Linked DNA regions of Homo sapiens: region 2 is linked to region 1. Evidence: promoter capture Hi-C in 16 types of primary human blood cells and fetal thymus (Javierre and others, 2016). All regions are on one chromosome and are shown on one strand. Each heading gives the region's core, a stretch centred on a gene start or on the middle of the fragment in contact. The rest is flanking DNA. Distances are from core to core; before and after follow the strand shown.

Region 1 (5,900 bases), core at 1,511-4,010:
TGAAAAGCTACATGTCTCCTCCATATTTTGCCCACAAAGAAATTCCTAGTGAGCTGCAAGATCTTTTAAGGTATTTCTGTTAAAATTTCACCATGGCAATGTAAATGGATAGATTATCTTTACAGATGCAGTCACCCTGCTGCCCACCAAACACAAATGAATATCTCATTGTTCCCCTGCCCCATTTTGCCTATGCTATCTTACGTAAAAATGTAGATTTCCTGCATTTTTCCTCTGCTCCATTTGTCTCTGTCATCTTATATATAAAAAAAAGCAGATGCACTGAGCTAGACAAGGGTATGAATGACTATTTTTCCTTATCCCGCCATACATGAAAATTATGTACTTCTCAATATCCCACCTTTTCCCCTTTAAATTTGGAGCCTTCAAAATCATCTTCAGAGAAAGGCATAGAACTGTCTCCTGGGCGTGCATCCTTAACTTTGGCAAATCAATCTCCTAAAATGATTGAGAATTGTCTCATCATTTTTCTCGATTGACACCTTTATAAAAGGGTTGGAGGAAATTGGCATGTTTGCCCTTCTTGCAGCATGTGAGGACACAGCAACAGGACACCATCTTGGAAGCAGAGACTGGGCCTCTCTATCAGACATTAAACCAGTTGGCACCTGGGCGACCCAGTATCCAGAACTGTGAGAAAATAAATTCCTGTTCTTTACACATTACCCAGTCTGTGTGTTATTCTGTTATAGCATCATAAACAGAATAAGACAAAAGTCTTCAAACAATGAATGGATTTTGAAAGGAGTAAAAGATGGGCTGGGCATGGTGGCTCATGCCTGTAGTCCCGGCACTTTGGAAGGCTGAGGTGGGCAGATTGCTTGAGCTCAGGAGTTCCAGACTAGCCTGGGCAACATGGCAAAACCCCATCTCTAAGGAAAAAAAGAAAAAAAAAGGGATGGAGGGGTGGGAGTTTTATAGACAAAGAAATACATAAGCAAACAGATAAGCAAAAGCACGTCCTCAGTAATTCCATGTTGCTTTATCTGTATTCATGATCATGTTTACAAATCCATTCTGGAATTCTGCTGACTACTGATATTTGCAATTTTTGGCATTACTTCTCATCCACCTTAGAAAACCTGGAGAACATTTTTTCTATCTTTAATCTTCATATACATGCTTAATGAATTCTGATGATTATTAATGGAAATTTCATAACATCAATTTATTCACCAATATTTATTAGACCCTTGATATGTTCAAGACCCTGTAGCTGGTGCTGTCGGAGTCACTAAGATGAACTATATAAATAACTACTCTATGTGTACGAATAACTACCCTACAAAGCAGAAAGCTATCAAGTGCCTTAAGGGAGTTGAAACTGTATTTGCTACAGGAGGGCTGAGAGAAGACAGAACATCTACGATTTTTTTTCTTTTCAATTCTCTTCCTACAACTAATTCATCCGACCTTGGAAGTTTGGTCTTACTAAAAACAAAAGTTAGCTGTTCTTTTACAACCTCCTCTTCAAGATTACTTGTCAGGGTTTGCTGTGCCCTTCGCAGCTTGAAAGACTTTCTCTTCATCCAACGATTTGAGGCAATTAGGAGCCACTGCCTTCTCTCTGCCATTGGGTTCCAGAAAGCACCATACATTGTCCGCAGATACTTTACTCATGCTTACACTTTCTTGTTCTGAATCTTCAAAAATTAGTGGCGTGTGGTGGCACACGCCTGTAGTCCTAGCTACTCGGGAGGCTGAGGCAGGAGAATCACTTGAACCTGGGAGGCGGAGGTTGCAGTGAGCCGAGATTTCGCCACTGCACTACAGCCTGGGCAGAATAGAGAGACCCCATGTCAAAAAAAGAAAAAAAAAGTATCTGATTGTGTTTAGCATATCTGCAATATCCCCTTGACTTTGGCCTTTAGCCTCTTTATGAGTACCCTGATGGAGGAAGGCCCAGGAAGCGGTAGCCTTCCTGGTTTGTGACGCACGGTGTGCATTGCGTATTAGATTAACATCAGAATGGCCCTGAAGGCTGGAACATCTTATCTGTGTTTGAGAGTTATGGAAACTCTGATCCTCCATGAGAATAATTTTTCCAAGGTCTCAGATCTCTAAAGCAGTAGATCTTGGATCTGAACATTGCTATTTCTGACCTTAAAGCCCATGCATTTCCCACAACATATGAACCATGATAAGGTGTATTTTAAAGTTCATCTTTTCTGTTTTTTGTGAAAGTCTTTTAGAGATCTCAGCTCATCACAAAGTTTCCGGTTCAGTCTCGTGGGTTTCATGTACTCAGCCAGCATTTACTTGCCAGTCAAGGTCTAGGATGGCTACCTGTCCTCTGCAGGAGCCCCAAGCCTATTCATTAATTTCATTTACAATTTTATAGTCATAATTATTTCTTTGTATAATAGCATTCTGAGATTTTCCAAAATTTCCCACTGTTTTTGTTTTACAGTGGGCAGAATTCACTTTGCTCTAACTTGACTCCAAGATGACACAATTTCCCAGTTTTTTTTTTAACGGCTAGGGGATGGGGGTATGCGGAACAGAACACAGTGGTCTAGCTAACCGATTTCCGCTAGACGTCCAGCTATCTTTCAAAATATTTTGTTTCTGCACGGCAACTTCAGCCGCTAAAAAAGCATCCAGCTTACAACGGAACCTGGAGGGTTGGTAAAGGCCCCCTGCGCTGGCCCCGCCCCATGGGACCGGGCGGCGTGGGCGTGAGAGGCGGGGCGGGGCCGCGCTCTGCTTGCCAATGTCTTTATAGGTCACCCGGAAGGCACGCGGAACCTCGGCGCGGTGCTTCCAGCAGGGTCTCTCCGCCACTCCAGCCCCGCGCCCCTCGCCGCGGCCCTCGGGCGTCTGCGCCGCAGCTGCCGCCCCCGCCTCTTTGGAGTCTCTCGCGGCCTCAAAGCGCGGCCTGCGTCGCTTCCGGCAGTTCCCGACCGCGGGCGATGGCTGCCGCTGGGGGCGCCCGGCTGCTGCGCGCCGCTTCTGCTGTCCTCGGCGGCCCGGCCGGCCGGTGGCTGCACCACGCTGGGTCCCGCGCTGGATCCAGCGGCCTGCTGAGGAACCGGGGGCCGGGCGGGAGCGCGGAGGCGAGCCGGTCGCTGAGCGTGTCGGCGCGGGCCCGGAGCAGGTAGGGCGCCGTGCGGGCGCGATCGCCGGCGCGGGCCGGGGTCCCCGGTGGGTGGCGCCTGGCTCTCTGGGCCGAGTCTCTGGTTCCAGTGCCTTCTGCGCGCCGGGCCCACACCCCGGAGGCCTGCCTCTCGCCCCCCTCTTCTGGGGTGCTCTCGCGGCTCCGTCTCGCTGCTCGGTGGCGTCGCTGCCTCCCTTCCGTCGCACCGCAGAGTTCCTTTCCGCATCACCCACTCCCGGCGGGAATCGGGGACCCTGGACGCCCAGCTCCCTTTCCCAGCGCTTCCCGTGCCCTGAGGAAAGCCGGGACTTTGCTGCTGCTTGTTCTCCGTGTGATTTGTCTGGGATCTGACCTTTGCTCTGCCCGAAACTGGCAGTGACCTTCGCGACAGGCTTCCCTCCTGCTGTCCTGGCCTGACACACCTGCCAGCTGTTTTTTTCAGGGCCTTGCCCTGCTTTGAGAGGACACCCAGGTCCCAGGTCTTTGTCAGGGGGTGTCCAGGTAGAATACACCCAGCCCATACCCTCTGCTGCCCTGTAGGCCCTTTGCTAGTTGCTCAAGTGTTGAAAGCCCCTGCGTTGAAGTAATCTGCCGGGACTTGAAACTTGGCTTTGGCACTGATTGTCTGACGTGCCTAACTTGGTCAGTCCTTAGGAACCCAGTTTCTCCATTTGCAAGTTGGATATAATAACAGTGTAGACCTCCTATGGTTAATTGAAGAATCAATGAGTTAATACAGCGATACAGGTAGTCTTGTGCCTAGCACGTAATGAGGGCTCAGTAGATGCCACTTGGTAGCAGCAGCAGCAGCAGCAGCAGCAGCAGCAGCAGCTTCTTAGGTTCACAATGTTAAGAGAGTTTTGTATTAAATATTGAAAGAAATGTGACAATTTATCCCAAATGTGTTGAAGTTTTAGGTTCTTGGGCATATTTGTTTTTCAAAGACACTCCTTAGATATACTAGAGATACAATTTACACATAATTTTTACCAACATGGTGGCGATTTATATAATGCAGATCTCTCGACAGCTCTTTGACCGCATGATGTAGGGTAGCAGGAATCGAGAACTAGAGGGAGAGTGTGTTGGATTTGTACGCTGCTTTGTCTAGTTTCTTTTTGAGGTCTCTGAGAGCAGGGTCTAAGACTTTCAGTCATCTTTTCCCCACTAATCCCGTTATCTAGTGGGTGCTCCATACATTTTTGTTGTGTGAACTTTGGGGGAAATCAGGGAGAAGGCAAGCCAGATTTATTTGTTCCTGTTTCCTCTGCACTTCCCCCCCTGTCTTTGACCAGTGTGGGTACCTTGCTTTCTGTTATACAATGGATGAGTTTTGGACAACTGAATCAATTGGGACAGATATTGAACATGCTTGTGTAACTGGTATAAGGGAACATGAATGTTTTTGTAGTAATTGGGAGTTATCTTTCTCAGATTTGTTTTTTGGATTTGGATATGTCAGGTTGTTTTAAAGGGGAGCACGTCTATTTCCTCATAATCCTGCTGCCCTCTTTATTGGCACAATTTCTATTCATGGTCTTATCATTCCTCTTACAGACTTTGGAGCTACAACTGGATTTTCCAGTTCTTACTGTGTTAATGAGACTTGTGCTGTAACTACCGTAACTACTAATCACATGTGGCTATTGAAGTTTAACATAATTAAAGGTAAATAAAATTAAAGATTCAATCTCGTAGTTACACTAGCCACATTTCGAGTTCTCAGTAGCCACATGTGGCTAGTGGCTACTGTATTGGACATTGCAAGTATGTGTAGAACATCTTTGTTATGGCACAAAGTTCTTATAGACAGACAGAGCAGTTCTAGAAACTGTAGTTCTGTCTTTGAAGTTTAACAACTCGATAAGCTATCAGTAATTGAGAGTCAGAAAAACTCCTTTTACTCTAAAATACCGTGACACAAGGGGGTTTGCAGTGATTCAGGTAGCAAAGATCTTTCACGTGTATTGTTTCGTATGACTCTTAAGACAATTCTATGAGGTAGGGAGGGTAGATAAATGGGAATAAAAATTTCATATTAAGTAGCTGGCAAAACTAGGACTAGAACTCAAGAAGTTTTTGCGGATTTTAAAAAAATTTTAAATTTCTATTTATTTTTAAAATTTCAGTAGTTTTGGGGGCACAGGTGGTGTTTGGTTAATGGGTTAGTTCTTTAGTGGTGATTTTGGAGGTGTTGGTGTACTCTTCACCTGAGTGCAGTGGTGCCATCATGGCTCACTGCAGCCTACACCTCCCAGGTTCAAGCGATTCTCGTGCCTCAGCCACCCGAATATCTGGGATTACAGGCGCGTGCCACCACACTCGGCTAAGTTTTGTAGTTTTAGTAGAGATGAGATTTCACTATGTTGACCAGCCTGGTCTGGAACCCCTGGCCTCAAGTAATCTGCCTGCTTCAGCCTCCCAAAGTATTGGGATTACAGGCGTGAGTGACCACTCCCAGCATAGGGTCTACATCTTCTGACTCTTAGGTTCCATACTCTTTCAACTTAAGAATTACATTTTTCTTTCGTTTCCGCCTCCTCTCCTCTTCTTTGGTAAACCTGTTAATACTCTTACTTGGCAGTTTTTTGTAGGGCTGTTTACCTTTAATACAGACCAACAGGTTGGGCTTCTTAGCAAAAGGGCTTGGTCTTTAAATAACAGTTATTAATCAGTGTGTGTTGAATTCTACTATGTGTTACGTATTTTGCATACATTGTCAGAACTATAAGATTAATGTTGTCCAATTTTATAGAAGAGGAGGCTGATGTAAGAGATTTCG
Region 2 (5,900 bases), core at 1,727-4,226, 1.0 Mb after region 1:
AATCTGGGCCCAAGAGCTGTGCTCAACTTGAGGACTGGTGTGGCTCCCTCTGCAAGAAGGTTAGGCCAATGCCAGTGAACCAGCCACTGAAGGCTGGAGGGGCCGGAGAGCCTCTGAGCATCCTCACCGCCTTGCCTGAGGCTAGAGCTACAACAGCGAGTGCCTAGACCCCCACCTGTATCCCCATTGCATCCCCACCACTACCCAGCAGCTCAGGAGCAGGCTCTTCCCTCCACTCCTAGGCGACACTCTGCAGTTTCCATCCTGGGGTCTCTTACTTGCTTCTGCTACTCTGCCCAGTTTCTCGTGTTGATAGCTTAGCTACTCAGCCTTCCTGGGTTTTCTTTTCAGCCCTGGTCATATCTTTAATGATCTCTATCCTCAACATGTCTAATAGCCCAAGGACCAAGCTCATTCCACTCTCATCCTCAACCCAGATCTGCAGGACCCCAGCCAGGCCCATAGCCCCCCAAGCAGAGGGGAACTGACAGCTATGACTCTGACTATACTAGACAACATTCTACACCCACCAGGAAGTAGAGCCTTGGAGATGTCCAAGCTGACCCTGTTATTAAGGGCTGAGAAGCAGTTGTAGATGCTGCTTAAAGGAAGAGGGGAAGGGGGCTGCCAGGGCAGCCACAGAGGCATCAACAGACGGGACACAGAGGTCTCTGGTGTCACCCTGATGGCAGTTCTGCAAGTGCTGACACGGGGTCCCAGAGTCCCTAGACCTAACTTTGTGGGTTAGACATCTGACTCCAATTTGTGTGGGCCAAATTCTAGCCTGGAACTTGGGCCCCAATATGCACAATCTGTCTTCCCCACAGCCCCTGAGACACCATGTGAGCCAGGGCACACAGCCAGCCTGCACCCTGCCCTTCTCAACAGGAATTCCTTGGCTCATGCAGCCTCCACCTCTGGCCTGACTCTGTTCTTTCTCTGTGAAACCTTCCTCGACCCCTTCAGTTAGCCTCTGTCCAAAGCCAGGCACTCTCATGGGCCATTTCCCCCAGCGCTTACCAAATGTTGCCAGGTATTTTAGTTATCTGGGTAAACATCTTCTCTGTAAACTCCTCAACAACAGAGACATTTTATTCATCTCCATTCTCACCCACCACCGCCAGCACCTAGCTCTGCACCTTGCCAAGAGTAAACATTAAACATTTTCTGGATCAATAAACTCAGGATAATCCTCCCAAGTCCTTATTCTGAATGGCCACAGGAAAACCAAAACATTTCCTCATCTCCTTGGTGACCCCATACATTACCCTAAGCTTCAAAAGAGAGGATGCTAAAGAAGGCGTGATGTGGTCAGGGGGTCCCTGGATATGTGAACCTCCCCCGTCCTAACTGGACACTGTCTTAGGTTTCCATTTATACCTTCCCGGTGGCACCTCTGTCCCTGCTGTCCTATCCATCCACCAGAAATCTCTGGCCAACACATTAAACATATTTTCAAATCCCCAATTCCCTGAACTTAAGGGAAAGCAGGCTGCCCCGGCCTGGGTACTGGGTGTTACCTGACTAGCACGTGGGCTGCCCCCTGTCCCGCACACCCACCCGCTGGGCAGCTAAGCCTCTGCGGTTGGGACCCCAGGGAGGCTTCCTGGTGATTTGCATATAATCACACAATGCCAGGCACAACAAAGCCACTCAAACAGCAGAGCCTTCTCAGCTGAGTTTAAAGTTTAATCTCCTTAATACAAAAGTTTCTGCTTTGCTTTTGATGGGTTCTGGAACTCTTGCTGATGATGCTAAACAAATAGTCACCCTTTCTCCCCCTCTGGAGGCTTTGCCCAGCGCATTGTGGCAGCACAGGCCCCAGTTGTTGTGGTTTACGGGCCAGACCTGCACCTGCACTGTTTGTGTGAGCTCATCTGGATGCCCAGAAGGGCTCTTTAAAGAGAGCCCAGCACAGCCGCAGATGGAGCAGGAGAAGACACCAGCCCAAGGACTGCTACAACCCTTGGCCAGACACCAGCTCAAGGCTGCCTGTACTCTCGGTGCCCCCCACCGCCCTCTACTTCCCTTACAGAAACATTCATCCCCAAGTCCTCCTCCCAGAACCCAGCTCCCTCCTATGTGTCTCTCAGGACCTTCCTCTTCCAGATGCCGTCCAGCCCCCTCGTACTTCCCCTCCCAGACTCACACCCCCTCTCAGTTTCTGCACACTTTGCCTCATCATCTGGAGGCCATTCCTAGGTCAGTTTTCCTATTTACTTCAGCACTTCACCTATAGGAGTCATAGAGCCATCCCAAGCAAAGAGCCTCTAGAAGACCCTTTCAAAGACATGCTCAGCACTTTACGTTTTGGCTCCAGCTCCTCCGCCCGGTCATTTTGAGAATGAGCCATGATCCTCCATCTCTCATATTGATGCGGGAATTGGAAGTTGGTCATTGAACTGGTGGCCTGAATAGGGGTGCCCCAGCCATCTTGGTTATCTGTTTTTGTGTAGCAAACAATCTCAAAACTTAGCAGCCTAAGACAACGGTTGTTTTATTTTATCTCACAGTGCTGTAGTTCAGAAACCTGTTCAGGGCTCAGCTGGGTAAGTCTGCTCTGTTGGCATTGGCTGGGGTTACTCTGTGATCTGGGATCTAAGATGGTTTCATTTTCATGGCTGGTGACTTAGTGAGTATGGCTAAAAGGCTTGGCTCAGCTGGGACTGTTGAGCAAAGGGCCTGCACATGGCCTCTCCAGCCTAGCAGATCAAGGCTCCCAGAGAGAGTGTCCCAAAAGAACTCTGCAGAAGCTTCAAGCCTTCACATGACCTAGGCTCTAAAATCCCAGAATCTCACTTCTGCTACATTCTATTAGTCAAGCAGATTCAAAAGAAAAGAAATTGCAACATCTTTAATCTGTCACACCAGCTAAAGAGGTCTTTTCAGAAGCCACCAGCCCCTGTAACTAGTTCAGAGACAGAGTTTCCTGGTCCCAATGTCTAAATAACCTATCCTTGCAAATAGAACATCACAGTTACCAGCCTGCATGTACTAGGAGCTGACATCCTTTCCATTCTTTCCCCAGAGACTCAAACCAACATCCTACCCCTGGGCGGTGTCCCCATTTGACCCCGTTTGGCCTGCCTCTTACCTACCTTGGCTGTTGGCAGGAACTTTGGTTTTTCTCAGTTGCTGCCAGACCTAGATCTGCCCTTTTCAGATTTTTGTTCACAGATAGCTTTAGATGGGAGATAAGGAAGCTTGAGTCAGGTCAGTGCTGAGGCGAAGATGCTGCCCCAAGACAGGGGGAATGCCCCAGACTTGTCCCATCCAGCCCTTGCAGAATGGCACCAGCAACAAGCACCTGCTGTAGAGAAGGGTTGTCACTATGTTGCAGCTCTGAGACTCTACAGAAGTCAGAGGTGGGTCATGGAGATGAGGGGACAAGGAGAGTGAGGAGGGGATAGGTGACTATCTGCCACACCACTTAGGTACTGAGTCACATCAACATGTATGCAATACCTGGTCAGACAGGCACCCGCAGACCCATCTGGCCCAGACCAGCTGCACTTTCCCAGGCTTAGGCTGGGAGTGGCAGTCATCTGGCAGAGTCTTGGTTCCTGGAGTGAGGGCACAAGGTCACACAGGCCAGGGCCAGAGACCGCTCTCTTTTCTTTTTTTTTTTTTTCACAAATACATTTCAAATGTTATTATGAAATATGCAAGCCATACAAAAAGGAATGAAGAATACAATAATAAACACCCATGTACCCACAACCTAACTTAAGAAATAAAATATTAGCAAAGAAAATCTCATAATGTAATATCTCAGGGCTCTGGGGAGTAGGGGAGAGAACAGGGTCTGCTCATGTTCCCACAGGAAGGAAGGAGTATTGAGAAGGAAGAGAGAAGCAAACTAGAGCATCAGCAGCGGCTCCTCCGAGAGAGAGATGGCTCCTTGAGCACCAGAGTCAAGGGAGATTTTATGGGCTTGGGAACAGACCACAGAGAATACACCACCCTTCTTCTTTCAACTCTCAGCTCAGAGACTTCCCAGATCCCACAGTCTGAATTAGTCATGAGTTCCTTAGAGATGCCTTACGGATTGACTTCTCTGTCCTTGTCTGCTCTTGGGCTGTTTATAATATATCCATGCCTCTCCCACGCCTGACTATAAACTCCGTGACTGTGCCTCGCTTTTGATCTCATGAAGTTCTTGTACAGGGTAAGAACTCCTTGTTATTGACTTGAATGTGTGACTAATCCTGGGAAACCCCCATGGTTGACGGGCAGGGGACAGAAGCATTAACAGAAAGGGAAAAGCAAAGCGAGTTGGGCCGGGCATGGTGGCTCACGCCTGTAATCCCAGCACCTTGAGAGGCTGAGGCAGGCAGATCACTTGAGGTAAGGAGTTCAAGACTAGTCTGGCCAACATGGTGAAACCCCATCTCTACTAAAAATACAAAAATTAGCCAGGCATGGTGGTGCATGCCTATAATCCCAGCTACTCAGGAGGCTGAAGCATGAGAATCACTTGAACCCGGGAGGAGGAGGTTGCAGTGAGCCGAGATCGCACCAGTGTACTCCAGCCTGGGTGACAGAGCAAGACTCCATCTCAAAAAACAAAAAAAGAAAGAAAAGTGAGTTGAACATAAGAGACCAGAGCATAGCTAACACCCAGACTTTGGTTTCTAATAACATTCTCCAATAAAAAGGAACCAGAACTCCTTGGGGATATGGCCAATTCTAGGACGGGGACAGGAAATATACGAGATGAGATCAGGTGCGGTGGCTCACGTCTGTAATCCCAGCAATTTGGGAGGTCGAGGCAGGTGGATCACTTGAGGTCAGGAGTTTGAGACCAGCCTGGCCAACATGGTGAAACCCCATTTCTATAAAAATACAAAAAATTAGCCAGGCATGGTGGTGCACAGCTGTAGTCCCAGCTACTCAGGAGGTCGAGGCAAGAGAATCACTTGAGCCAGGGAGGTGGAGGTTGCAGTGAGCCAAGATCGAGTCACTGCACTCCAGCCTGCATGACAGAGTAAGATTGTTTCAAAAAAAATGTATACACACACACACACACACACACACACACACACACCAGATGAGCCTGGGGCATCTTATAGTGCCAAAAATATAAGGAAGTACTCGAAAAACAACAACAACAACAACAACAACCCACAATCATGAGGTATGTCCAAAGGACCCCGTAGCCCACTGGCAGAGCTCACAACAACCAGCACTGGATCATTTTGAAAGACAGGGAAAAAAAAAAACTCTCTATCTAAATCTAAAGTATGAAATGAATACCTATAAGTCCATATTGATATAAATAAATGTTCACGTGAATAAATAAAAATGAAGAAGCAACAAATCTCACATGCAGAAGAATCTCAAATAACTTGCATTCGATTAACTTACGTTAATTTCAAATAACTTAATTCCACCCTCGGGGAGGGATAAGGCAACTGCCCACTCCTTAAGTGTGGGCTGTACATAGTGATTTTCTTCCAATGAGCATAGTGTGGAAAGGGAAAAAGAGTAACCTCTACAGTGGAGGAAACCTGGCCAACGCTACCTCAGCCAGGTGATCAAGGTCAACACCAACAGTGATACATCATGTTGATTGCATGTACCCTTCATACAACGTGATGAAAATGGCACCTTGCCTCTGTGGTCTTCCTCTCAAAAACCCACACCTCCAGTCCAAGCGTTAGAAAAACATCAGATAAATCCTAACTGAGGAACATTCTACAAAATATCTGACCAACATTCCTCAAAACTGTCAAGGTCATCAAAAACAAGGAAAATTTGAGAAATTCTCTCAACTGAGAGTAGGCAAAGCAGACATGATGACTGGATGTCATATGTGGTCCTGGAACAGAAAAAGACAATAGGTAAAACTAAGGAAATCAGAACAAAGTATGGGTTTCAGTTAATAATAATGTATTGGT

What was found. Contacts are between HindIII fragments. The CHiCAGO score rates a contact against its expected background, and 5 or more counts as called.
Region 2: a contact is called between a fragment that was not itself captured here and the fragment with the promoter of FDX1 in region 1, in 4 of 17 cell types (naive B cells, total B cells, total CD4 T cells and 1 more). The highest score is 12.0, in naive B cells.

Annotation. Positions count from the first base shown.
Region 1 is chr11:110,427,188-110,433,087 of GRCh38, forward strand. FDX1 (ferredoxin 1) reads left to right here and starts at 2,761. Exons shown (of 4, transcript NM_004109.5): 1 at 2,761-3,118. The coding sequence starts at 2,934. RefSeq lists a silencer at 2,575-3,224 and an enhancer at 3,295-3,574. The HindIII fragment of the contact is 8,631 bases long and covers 1-5,900 here.
Region 2 is chr11:111,437,499-111,443,398 of GRCh38, forward strand. It overlaps a transcript of BTG4 not described here. Among named protein-coding and RNA genes, the nearest start is that of POU2AF1, 61 kb to the left of the region's middle. RefSeq lists silencers at 1,752-1,801, 1,822-1,891 and enhancers at 1,800-2,386, 3,223-4,422. The HindIII fragment of the contact is 450 bases long and covers 2,752-3,201 here.